Linked DNA regions of Homo sapiens: region 2 is linked to region 1. Evidence: promoter capture Hi-C in 16 types of primary human blood cells and fetal thymus (Javierre and others, 2016). All regions are on one chromosome and are shown on one strand. Each heading gives the region's core, a stretch centred on a gene start or on the middle of the fragment in contact. The rest is flanking DNA. Distances are from core to core; before and after follow the strand shown.

What was found. Contacts are between HindIII fragments. The CHiCAGO score rates a contact against its expected background, and 5 or more counts as called.
Region 2: a contact is called between a fragment that was not itself captured here and the fragment with the promoter of SLC7A14 in region 1, in 1 of 17 cell types (endothelial precursors). The highest score is 5.5, in endothelial precursors.

Annotation. Positions count from the first base shown.
Region 1 is chr3:170,584,345-170,589,093 of GRCh38, reverse strand. It overlaps SLC7A14 (solute carrier family 7 member 14), which reads left to right and starts at 3,019. Exons shown (of 8, transcript NM_020949.3): 1 at 3,019-3,183. The region is part of intron 2 of SLC7A14-AS1 (SLC7A14 antisense RNA 1); the gene reads right to left. RefSeq lists a silencer at 4,240-4,534. The HindIII fragment of the contact is 6,611 bases long and covers 2,632-4,749 here.
Region 2 is chr3:170,835,243-170,840,556 of GRCh38, reverse strand. It overlaps LOC105374211 (a long non-coding RNA gene), which reads right to left. Exons shown (of 3, transcript XR_924701.2): 3 at 2,934-3,244. Among named protein-coding and RNA genes, the nearest start is that of RPL22L1, 32 kb to the left of the region's middle. RefSeq lists a silencer at 691-891 and an enhancer at 4,691-5,254. The HindIII fragment of the contact is 1,166 bases long and covers 3,210-4,375 here.

The DNA of each region.
Region 1 (4,749 bases), core at 1,770-4,269:
TAGACTGTAAGCTCAAGGAGAGCAGAACCATTTCTGTATTGTTCATGGCTGTATCCTAAGTGTCTAGAATATGTTGAATACATGAATCAACACTTCCACATTTCAACTGTAGGAACAAGAAAACAAGGATGTGTACTTTAAAGATCTAGTTAGTAGTCACTTTGTAAGATCATTGTTGAACTCTGGAACTTCACCAATTGTTGCGGCTGTGCATGGCTCTAAATAATTAAATTTTTGTCTGCTGCATTTATATTTCTTTGTTCATTAATGCTCTACTTACAGCTGGAAAGTGTTTGCAGTGGCTTATGATAAAGTCAACAATCATCATGCAAAAGACAAGAGCTTATAAGTAAGGGAGGACCCAAGGGAAACCTTTACAAGAAATCATTGCTAAGGTATAACTTTCTACTGCAATCTATGCAAGATCGGTTCTCTAAGTTTCCTTTTCTGCTCTTCACTGGGTAAAGTTGCCTTGGACATTTAAAACTGCTTTGAAAAAATATATATTCAGAGTCCTTGAGCAATTTCTGGTGAAACTGTTCAAAATTTTCTGAAATTTATGCTTGTCCAGGTAACTGCTCATAAAGGCATCATGGCCAAATTAAATGATTTCATGCTTATTTTTCCCTTTCTCATGTTTCTTGATGTCAGTGGAGAGGTAGGCAGGAGTCAGAAGCAGCATTTTACCTAGCCCAGACAATTTTTTCAGTGGTATATATAGAAGCATGGTTGACACTTTCTGGTCTTTTAGTCTCCCTAAATACAAAGAGGTCCAGATTAGCAATTTCCAAAGAATATTAAGGGGAAGTACACCAGGAGATAGGATTGGAATCTGCTTAAGGTTGGAGGGTTCCAGGAGTTCCTGGTTTGTGTGAGGATTTCATTGAGTTTATTGGCAGTGGACTAGAAACACATATCATCATTCAAGCTGCTGATGAATGTCTAGAGTTTGTTCCTAGAATCCAAATTTTTTTTCTTTGAAATCGAAGCCATTTTGAATTACCAACCCAAGTCAATTTTACCTAGCAAAGGCAGAAAAGTCTAAACCCTGCTGTCTTGAAATATAGGCACAAACTTTTCTCAGATAGTAAATATTCATAACTATTGTGATTGTGGCTGGTGTTCCAGAAATAAAAGGCCAGGGAAATATGGAGATTTAAATCAGAAATTTATCCAGAAAAAGGTGAAACAAAGAATGCAGTTCTCCAATAATCACATCCCCTGAGCTACAGGCATACATGCAGACTTAGAGCAACACACCAACATTTTAGTAGCTGCATATTCCATGACAAATCCCATCTTCCCATCTTATCACCCTCATAATTCATTTGGACTAGAATAGACTCAGGGTTTTCTTCAGCCCATAGTATTCATACTCTTTACCTTTTACAGTGACTTCTCATGTGCTATCCCATCTAAACATCACAACCATCTTATATAGAAGGCAGGTAGACATTCCTTTCCCATTCTGAAGATGAGAGTCTGACAATTTAAGTGATTTGTGAAAAATCATATGATAAGTAGCTGGCAGAACCTGCACTGAGATTCCAAATTTCTGATTTTTTAACTTTGCACTTTTCCTACAATGTCTCACAGCTTCTTGGTGATCCCAGGAGGTCTAACATATCCTGCAGAACTACTCAAAGCTTAAAATATGGGGATATTGTCAGGCTTAGATGCTCATCGAAGGCAGTAACAAGCTTGAGGTAGGTGGACTAACCAAGACTGTCCTGGCAATGATCAAGCAACTTTCTGGGAAGAGCCCAGGGCAGACCCACAAAGTAGAGCTAGATTTGAACTGCTCCACCCTAGAGGAGTATCAGTCAGCCAGTATTCTCCCCAAACACAAGCCCAGTGAATTCATTTCCAAGGATAGGAGAGTTACATTTTGTTGCCTCCCATGTGTTTTGAGGGCTTGGGCCAAAGTGCAAGAATTTATGTAGATAACTTTCATCCAAATCAGTCTACTCAATGCTTGTTAAATAATTCATTCGGTGATGTGGCCAAGCATGCCTGGGTTGGTCCCATCTAGTCCCAATCCTTTTGGGACATAACCTGGCTCTAGGACACTCATCTTAAAGGAGCTAATACAAAACAGAAACCTTATCTCACTCTTGTCTCCGTTTAGACTGGTACTTGTCTAGCCTGACCTCACAGATGCCTCCTTCCATGTTTAAAAGATGCTTTCACTGTATTAGCACACATCACATCCTTCTTGCCTTGTGAAATTTATTTTAACAAAGGTGGGGGAAAAAGAACTCTCCTTTATTGAGCTCCAAATACCTGTCCAACTCTAGGCTAGGCAATTCTAAGAACATGATGATTTCTCAATCTCATGACAATACTGCAAGGTGGTTATTTCACAGACGAGAGAAGAAAAGCTAGAAAGTTAAATGCTCCAAGGTCATACAGATTGGAATCCTAATGGCTCTTCAAATCTCAAGTCCATGATCTTTGCACCCATAAGATGTTGTGAACCCAACGATAAACTTAAGCTTTGAAGACAGAGGTGGGTCTTGTCTTCTTTAGGAGGAGAGGAGAAATCAACCTCTCTCATTTTTTCTTTCCTGTAGGGCTCAGGGATGTGGAAGTTTAAGAGCAACGAAGGCTCCGCAGAGGATGAGGGAAGCTTCCAGAGGGCAGGAAGGAGGTCTGGACAGCCCAGTCTAGCAGGGGCAGAGCTGCGGCAGATGCCTTCCCAACGCACAGACATTGCAGAGTCCTGCTGGTCCCTGCTTTCCCAGGGCAAAGAACTGCCCCCATCCACGGCCCCCTCAACCTCCCTGCAGCCTGACATAAGACACTGGAGGTCACAACTGGAGGCTCAGAAGGCCAGCGAGGAGTTGTGAGCGGCAGACAGAGGGGAAGGCAGGGGGGCCAGGTGGGAGGTGGTCTGGTGCCAGGCTTGGGCCCAGTATGTAAGGGGTTGGGCAGGCCATGTGACTCCAAGGAGGCGGAGACAGGCGAGCTGGAGGGAGGACGAGCAGGCACGGGGAGGGGTTCGGGGGGTGGGGGCCCAATCTGAATAATTGAGGAGCTGTTCAGCAGCAGCGGCTGCCTCCTGCCTTCCTTTGCCGCCACCACCACTTCCCATCCCAGCTAGAGAGACAGCTCCGCGCAGTAAGTGCGGACTGCCAGCCACCAGCCTTGGCAGCCAGCTCGTCGCCTCCAGCCCCGACCCCGGTAAGTGAACGGCCCCCTTCGCTGCCGTTTGTCCCCCTCCGCGCCCCCCGCGCCCCAGCGGGACCCCTGCAACTGGGATGGCCGCCTCTCCCGGAATGACCCAGGGAGCCGGAGTCACCGGGAGCGGGGGACCAGGAATATGGCGCGGAGGCCCAGGGCGCCCTCCGAGAAGGGGTTCCCTGGAAGAACCGAGGAGGTGGGTCGGGCTCTTTCCTGCTCTGGCCCGGAATGAGGCCCCGACTGCCCGCGGTCTGGGGGCACCGGGCTCTGACTCGCGGGAGCTGCCGGGCGGGGCGGGGGCCAGCGCGGCTCCGGCGCCGCTAGAGCGGGAGGCAGAAGGGGAGCCGCGAGCGGAATGCGGGCAGCCTAGGTCTCGGCAGACGCCGGGCCCGTCCTGTCCCCCGCCTTGGCGCGCACCCCGCACGGGCAGCTCCGTTCTCCGCCTCGGACCGAGACCATGAAACGGAGACGCTTTTCCGGCCGCAGACTCCGGGGAGGTCGGGAGCAACGTCTGCCCTTTTACCTGGGAGCAAACTCCTCAAAGGGACTCCCGCCGAGCCCAGCACCCCGACCAGGATGGTGGCGCCCCGAGGGGCGTCTGTCCCCGGAGAGTGGTGACTCTCCCGGGAGCGGCGAAGAGGACGTGACGGGAGCGGTGTCCAGGGAAGCTCCCTGCCCAGAGCCGGCAGCCCCAGCAAGGGGAGCTCTCCTGCACTGCTTCAACCCTCAGTCTCCTCTCTTCTCCCATTCCAAAGCACATCAGCTCCCCTCTAATCCAAGAGGGCCAGGTTAGGGCTGCGTGGCCACGCGGGATGCAGCCCCCACCCTCCTTCTCTCTCCTGTGTCACCCTGCCCCCTCCCCAAATGAGTATTTTATATTGCGATTGAAGAGTGAGCAAAGCAAAGGCGAGAAGAGATGCAGGAAGGCTAGAGCAGCGGGGCTCGCTCCTGTTCTGGCACTCCTCATCCCCCCACCTGTGTGAAGCTCGTTTCCTTGAGATTTTGAGCGGAGACACTCAAAGGAACTGGCTCTGGCGAAGGGATCCCCGCCTGAGTGTCGGTGAACGTCACTGGCCCGAATTGCCCAAGGGCCGCAGGATGTCACCCTGCCTCCCCCTAGGTATAGGGTCTAGGAGAGCGCTGGGGGCAAGGTAGCTCTCCTCCTCCGACTGAGTGCAGGGAATGGCGCTGTCCGCGGTGCTGAAAGTTCTCAGAGGCTGGGTGCTAATACCGCCAGGGCCCACATTCCCTGCGAGCAGAAACTGCGTTAGAACCCTAAAGGGTTCTAAGCAAGCGACCTAGAGAAACAGGAGAAGAAGGGGCTTTGCCTTTCCCGGTTTTCTGCTTCCCCAGGACTCCGCTTGGGAAAAGGTTCCCGGCTTTCCTGAGTGGAAGAGCAGGAAGCGGGTGTCACTTCAGGATCCAGTTTTGCTAACTTCGGGAGCTTCCTCGTTCTACTTCCTATACCTGAGCAGTGAGACTTCCTGTCGGTAAAGTGTTGAAAGGCAGTTAGGGATGCTGTTTTGATAATAAACATTTCTGTGGCTTTCAGGAATCAGAGAATTG
Region 2 (5,314 bases), core at 2,543-5,042, 250 kb before region 1:
GCCTTTCAGAACAGAAGGTCAAGAAACACGTTTCCCCTGCTCCCTCAGAATAATCCCTCTGATTGTGCTTCTATCCAGCCATCAGCTTACTGCTCTGAGTTGGTTTTGGGATATTTATGTGGTGAATTTAAGGTTTTAACATACAACTGAAAAATTAGTGTAGTTTATTTTAGTTTGCTCTAGGCTCCAGGCCATTACGCAATGAGGGGGTAAATAGTGTTTATTGTACTTTAAGGAGTACTGTGCCCACATGCCTTAACATAAATTCTGGATATGAGTACATAAATGTAGCTCAATGTATGACATACACACACACACACACACACACACACACACACACACACACACACACACGAAGTTACATAAAGCAATGTTCTTACCAAAAAGGGGTCCTGATCCAGACTCTAGAGGGTTCTTGGATTTCATGCAGGAAAGAATTTGGAGTGAGTCCATACAGTAAAGTAAAAGCAAGTTTATTAGGAAAGTAAAGGAATAAAAGACTGGCTATTCTATAGGAAGAGCAGCTCTAGGGGCTGCTGGTTGCCCATTTTTATGATTATTTCTTGATTATACGCTAAACAAGGGGTGTAGTATTCATGCCTCCCCTTTTTAGACCACATAGGGTAACTTCCTGATGTTGCCATGGCATTTGTAAACTGTCATGGTGCTGGTGGGAGTGTAGCAGTGAGGACAACTGGAGGTCACTCTCATTACCATCTTGGTTTTGGTGGGTTTTGGCCAGCTTCTTTACTGCACTCTGTTTCATCAGAAAGGTCTTTATGACCGGTATCTTGTGCTGACTGTCCATCTCATCCTGTGACTAAGTATGCCTTAACTTACTGGGAATGCAGCCCAGCAGGTGTTAGCCTTATTTCGCTCAGCCCCTATTCAAGATGGAGTTGCTCTGATTCAAATACCTCTGACAATGTAACTAGCTTTGTTTTTAAACAAAAATGTCAGAATTTGTCAGGAGCCATGTTAGAAAGATATACATATTCCAACAATATTGACATAACTAAATATATTATGGAAATATTGCTTTGAATCTTGAAAACTGAAGTCCATTTATTAAAATATCCTCTGTGGTGACAAATTGTCATCATTTTCAGTGAGGTTGAACTTCTGGAAACATAATCATTTGGTGACAAGTATGGTAAATAGTGTAGGTGAAATAATCTTGTTAAAAACAACGTGGAATACTTAATAATGAAAGTGGTTTTGAAAGCACTTCCAAGGACAAGTTACAAAAGATGGCCAATGTCTTCCCACACAGTTATTCAATATGTAAGCTGAATATTGGGATGTTTTTGGACTTTGTTTTGTCTGTAACAGCCTCGTTTTACTCTTTTATTTTTAATATTTTAGTTTAAAGTGCTTGAGGAGAGCACACTTATAAAATGAATCCTAAGCAATCATTTTAAACTAAAGAAATTATCATATGAATAAACAGTAGATCACTGCAAGTTCAGATTTATTAACACTTGCATGTTGTTTGTTGTTTTAAAAAATCTGAATGCTTTCATGGCATATTTTGTGATTATATCATCTTTAAGATACTAAGTTGATTCATTTTGGTCCTTTCCAGGTCTCCTTAAATTTAGTTTTTTACCCTTGATTTTAGTTATCCATATTAGGCTTATCAGAAATAAACCATTGCAACACAGGCAAAATCCCCTCACACCCACCTCCTCAGTCCCCCACTGAGGATAACTTCTTCCCATGCAGAGATACATTATCCCCCGCATTGGTCACTGTTCAAAAACCGAATTCTATTTTGTTACCTAGGTTTTTCACTACACAGGTAGGCATTATCACATGTGGACCTGGCTCTATAGCTAGAAAAGCAGGGTCAAAGATGCAGCCCTTCCACGTGCCAACTATTACTCAAGTTGCTCAACTGCTCTGTGCCTTAGTTTTCTTGTGGGCAAATTGGAAATTATTGTAGCTCCTAATTTATGGATTGTAAGTTTTAATGAGTTTAAAACACCACAAAGAGCTTCTGGTAAATGGTGAATCTCAATAAACATTTGCTATTATTAATATACTAAAATAAATATATAGACAGGGCATGGTGACTCACGCCTATAATCCCAGGAGGATTGCTTGAGGCTAAGAGTTCAAGATCAGCCTGGGCAACATAGAAAGACCCCCATCACTACAAAAAAAAAAAAAAATAGCTAGGTGTGGGCGTGGTGGTGCACTCCTGTAGTCCTAGCTACTTGGGAGGCTGAGGTGGGAGGATCACTTGAGCCCAGGAGTTCAAGGTTACAGTGAGTGATAATCATGCCACTACACTCCAGCCTGGGCAACACAGTGAGACCCTGTTTGTAAAAATTAAAAAAAAAAAAAGAAAAGAAATTAAATCAATAAAATAGATATACAGAGTAGCCTTTTAGCTGTATAATTATTCTTTTAATTTAGAAATGTATGGAGAACATTCTCCCATACCTGTAAACACATATTTTATAGCTGATAGTATTTCAGTTTATGGATACACAATAATTTACTACATTAACCCACTACATTGGATATTTAGATGTTTCTAAATTTTTGCTTTTGTAAATGATGTGACAACTTTGTTCATTATTGTTTCCTTAAAATAATTGCAGTTTATGGGCAATTTTATACTGTGGGTGTTTTTTGTGGGTTTTTTTTTTTTTTTTTTTTTTGGTAGAGATGAGGTCTCACTATGTAGCCCAGGCTGGTCTTGAACTCCTGGCCTCAACGATCCTCCCACTTCAGCCTCCCAAAATGCTGGGATTGCAGGTGTAAGCCACTGCATCTGGCCTCAGGTACATTTTTAATCATTTTGATTTTATTTTCCAAATCAGCCATTAGAACTGCATCAACGTACAGTCACATCTATAGAGACTATATTAATCTCTAGAGCTAATCATGTACATTTCAGTCTGTACATCAGCATAATTCCTCTCTACTGCTCTAATATATTAGCTGCCTCTATACATTTAACACAGACTTCTCACACAGAAAAACAGGTTTTTACTAGTTCAGTCACCCAAATTATCTATATTATTGCAAATGCCTGGTTCTTTCCCACTGCCTTTGTCTTTCTTCTTGATTCCATTTCCTGTCTCGTCTCTACTCCTTTCTCCTTACATCCTGTTGCATGTCTGTTTCTTCAGAAAGGTGCAAGCTCCCAATCTCAGGAATTTTCTTCTGACCTGCTATCACTAGAGTTCTTCAAAGCTTAGGGTCCCTACTGCACAAAGATCTGGTCTTCTTCCTTTAAGCCGGATGAAATAAAAGATGAATACTAAAGAAGGCTTACAATGAAAGCAGAGGCAGAAAACAATAAAAGAAGAGAAACCGGCCGGGCGCGGTGGCTCACGCCTGTAATCCCAGCACTTTGGGAGGCCAAGGCGGGCGGATCACGAGGTCAGGAGATCGAGACCATCCTGGCTAACATGGTGAAACCCCGTCTCTACTAAAAATACAAAAAAATTAGCCAGGCGTGGTAGCAGGTGCCTGTAGCCCCAGCTACTCGGGAGGCTGAGGCAGGAGAATGGCGTGAACCTGGGAGGCGGAGCTTGCAGAGAGCCGAGATCGCGCCACTGCACTCCAGCCTGGGCGAGAGCGAGACTCCGTCTCAAAAAAAAAAAAAAAAAAAAAAAAAAAAAAGAGAAACCTCTACTATGGGGGATGATTCTAAGGTAGGGCTCATGTACGTGGAAGTTCTTTATACATTGAAACAAAAACATTTAAGAGACATCCTCAGGTGTAGAAACAAGGCATAGAACAAAGTGTAGTGAATGTTGCCATTTGCATTAAAAAACAGAGTATAAGAATATGTGTGTGTTGCTGGTTTATCCATAGCACACATCTGACAGCATACCAAACACTCTGGTAGCTCTCATGGCCTCAGGAAAGCTGGGGGTGAAGAACAAGGATGTGAAAGGGTTCTTTTCATTCCCTATCCTTTCATACAGTTTGATTTTTTTTTTTTTTTTTTTTTTTTAAGACAGAGTCTCCCTCTGTCGCCAGGCTGGAGTGCAGTGGTGTGATCTCGACTCACTGCAACCTCCACCTCCCAGGTTCAAGCGATTCTCCTGCCCCAGCCTCCCGAATATCTGGGATGACAGGTGCGCACCACCATGCCTGGCTAATTTTTTTTTTTTTTCTTAAGTAGAGATGGGGTTTCATCATGTTGACCAGGCTGGTCTCAAACCCCTGACCTCAGGTGATCCACCTGCCTTGGCCTCCTAAACTGCTGCGATTACAGGCGTGAGCCAATGCACCCAGCCTGAGTTTTGAACTATATGAATGTATTGTCTGTTCAAATGTAGATAAGTAAAATATGTTAAAACTTCTCATTAGTGAATGCGTTGTATTACTCCTTAACTTACATAATGAAGCTTTTCTCTTTATAACCCACTCCCTGTCTTTATCCTAAATTGTCCTATTAGCATACACAATAAAGGACCCCGGGGACTAAAAGGCATTCTTCTGACAAAATTGTTAATCGTAAATTTCAATTATCCACAGCCTGAATATGACACATCTCTGTCATGAAATCCTTCCATGTTATCTTCATTTTCATTTTATGTTGGGTAAAAACTAAGGGTTTGGGAGGGAGGGGCAGCAATTGCTTGTAGGTTTCAAACTCAGAGGCAGGGTTGGAGGAAAAAAAACCTAGGCTTTCCTTTTTTCTTTTCTTTCTGTTTTTTTTTTTTTTTTTTTTTTTTTTCAGAAGGAGGAAGCTCATTATGTTTGGATCACCCACAGCTATAGATTCTAAAAATATTTTGGCTTTTTTTGAGGTGCTTTAGTAAAATATAACCCCAAATGATTCACTTGGACAAGTGGTCTTAACAGCAAGGAAAACAAACACTTTATGAAAACAGCTATAAGCCTTCTGTCTTTTATCTTTACTATTTTCTCCGAGTCTGGCATGAAACAGATACACAGCAGCCTCCACAGGGGGTTAAGTAGAGAACCATCCAAGCATCACAGAGTGTCATCCAGAATTCTGATGACTTCCATTCGTTGACTCTGATGCACAATATGCCTGGCTTGGGATGCAGCGACCATGATGCCCCTCCCAGAACAGACACTTGCAGAGTGTTCCAGGAACAGCAGCTCCCTCCAGCCCCCAGCACAAGATGCACACATCTCAGAACAAGCCTCCATCCTTTTCCTAGAGAACTGAGCATAAATAACTTGTTCTATATCTGGCTCCAAGTCCATTTCTGTTCTGTCTTGGAGTAGAGTCTTAGCTCCCAGTTTGTTTTAGGTCAACTTTCAGCACCTACTTCAGCTCACTTGTTTGATTTACTAAGCTCTTGCTTCTGTATAT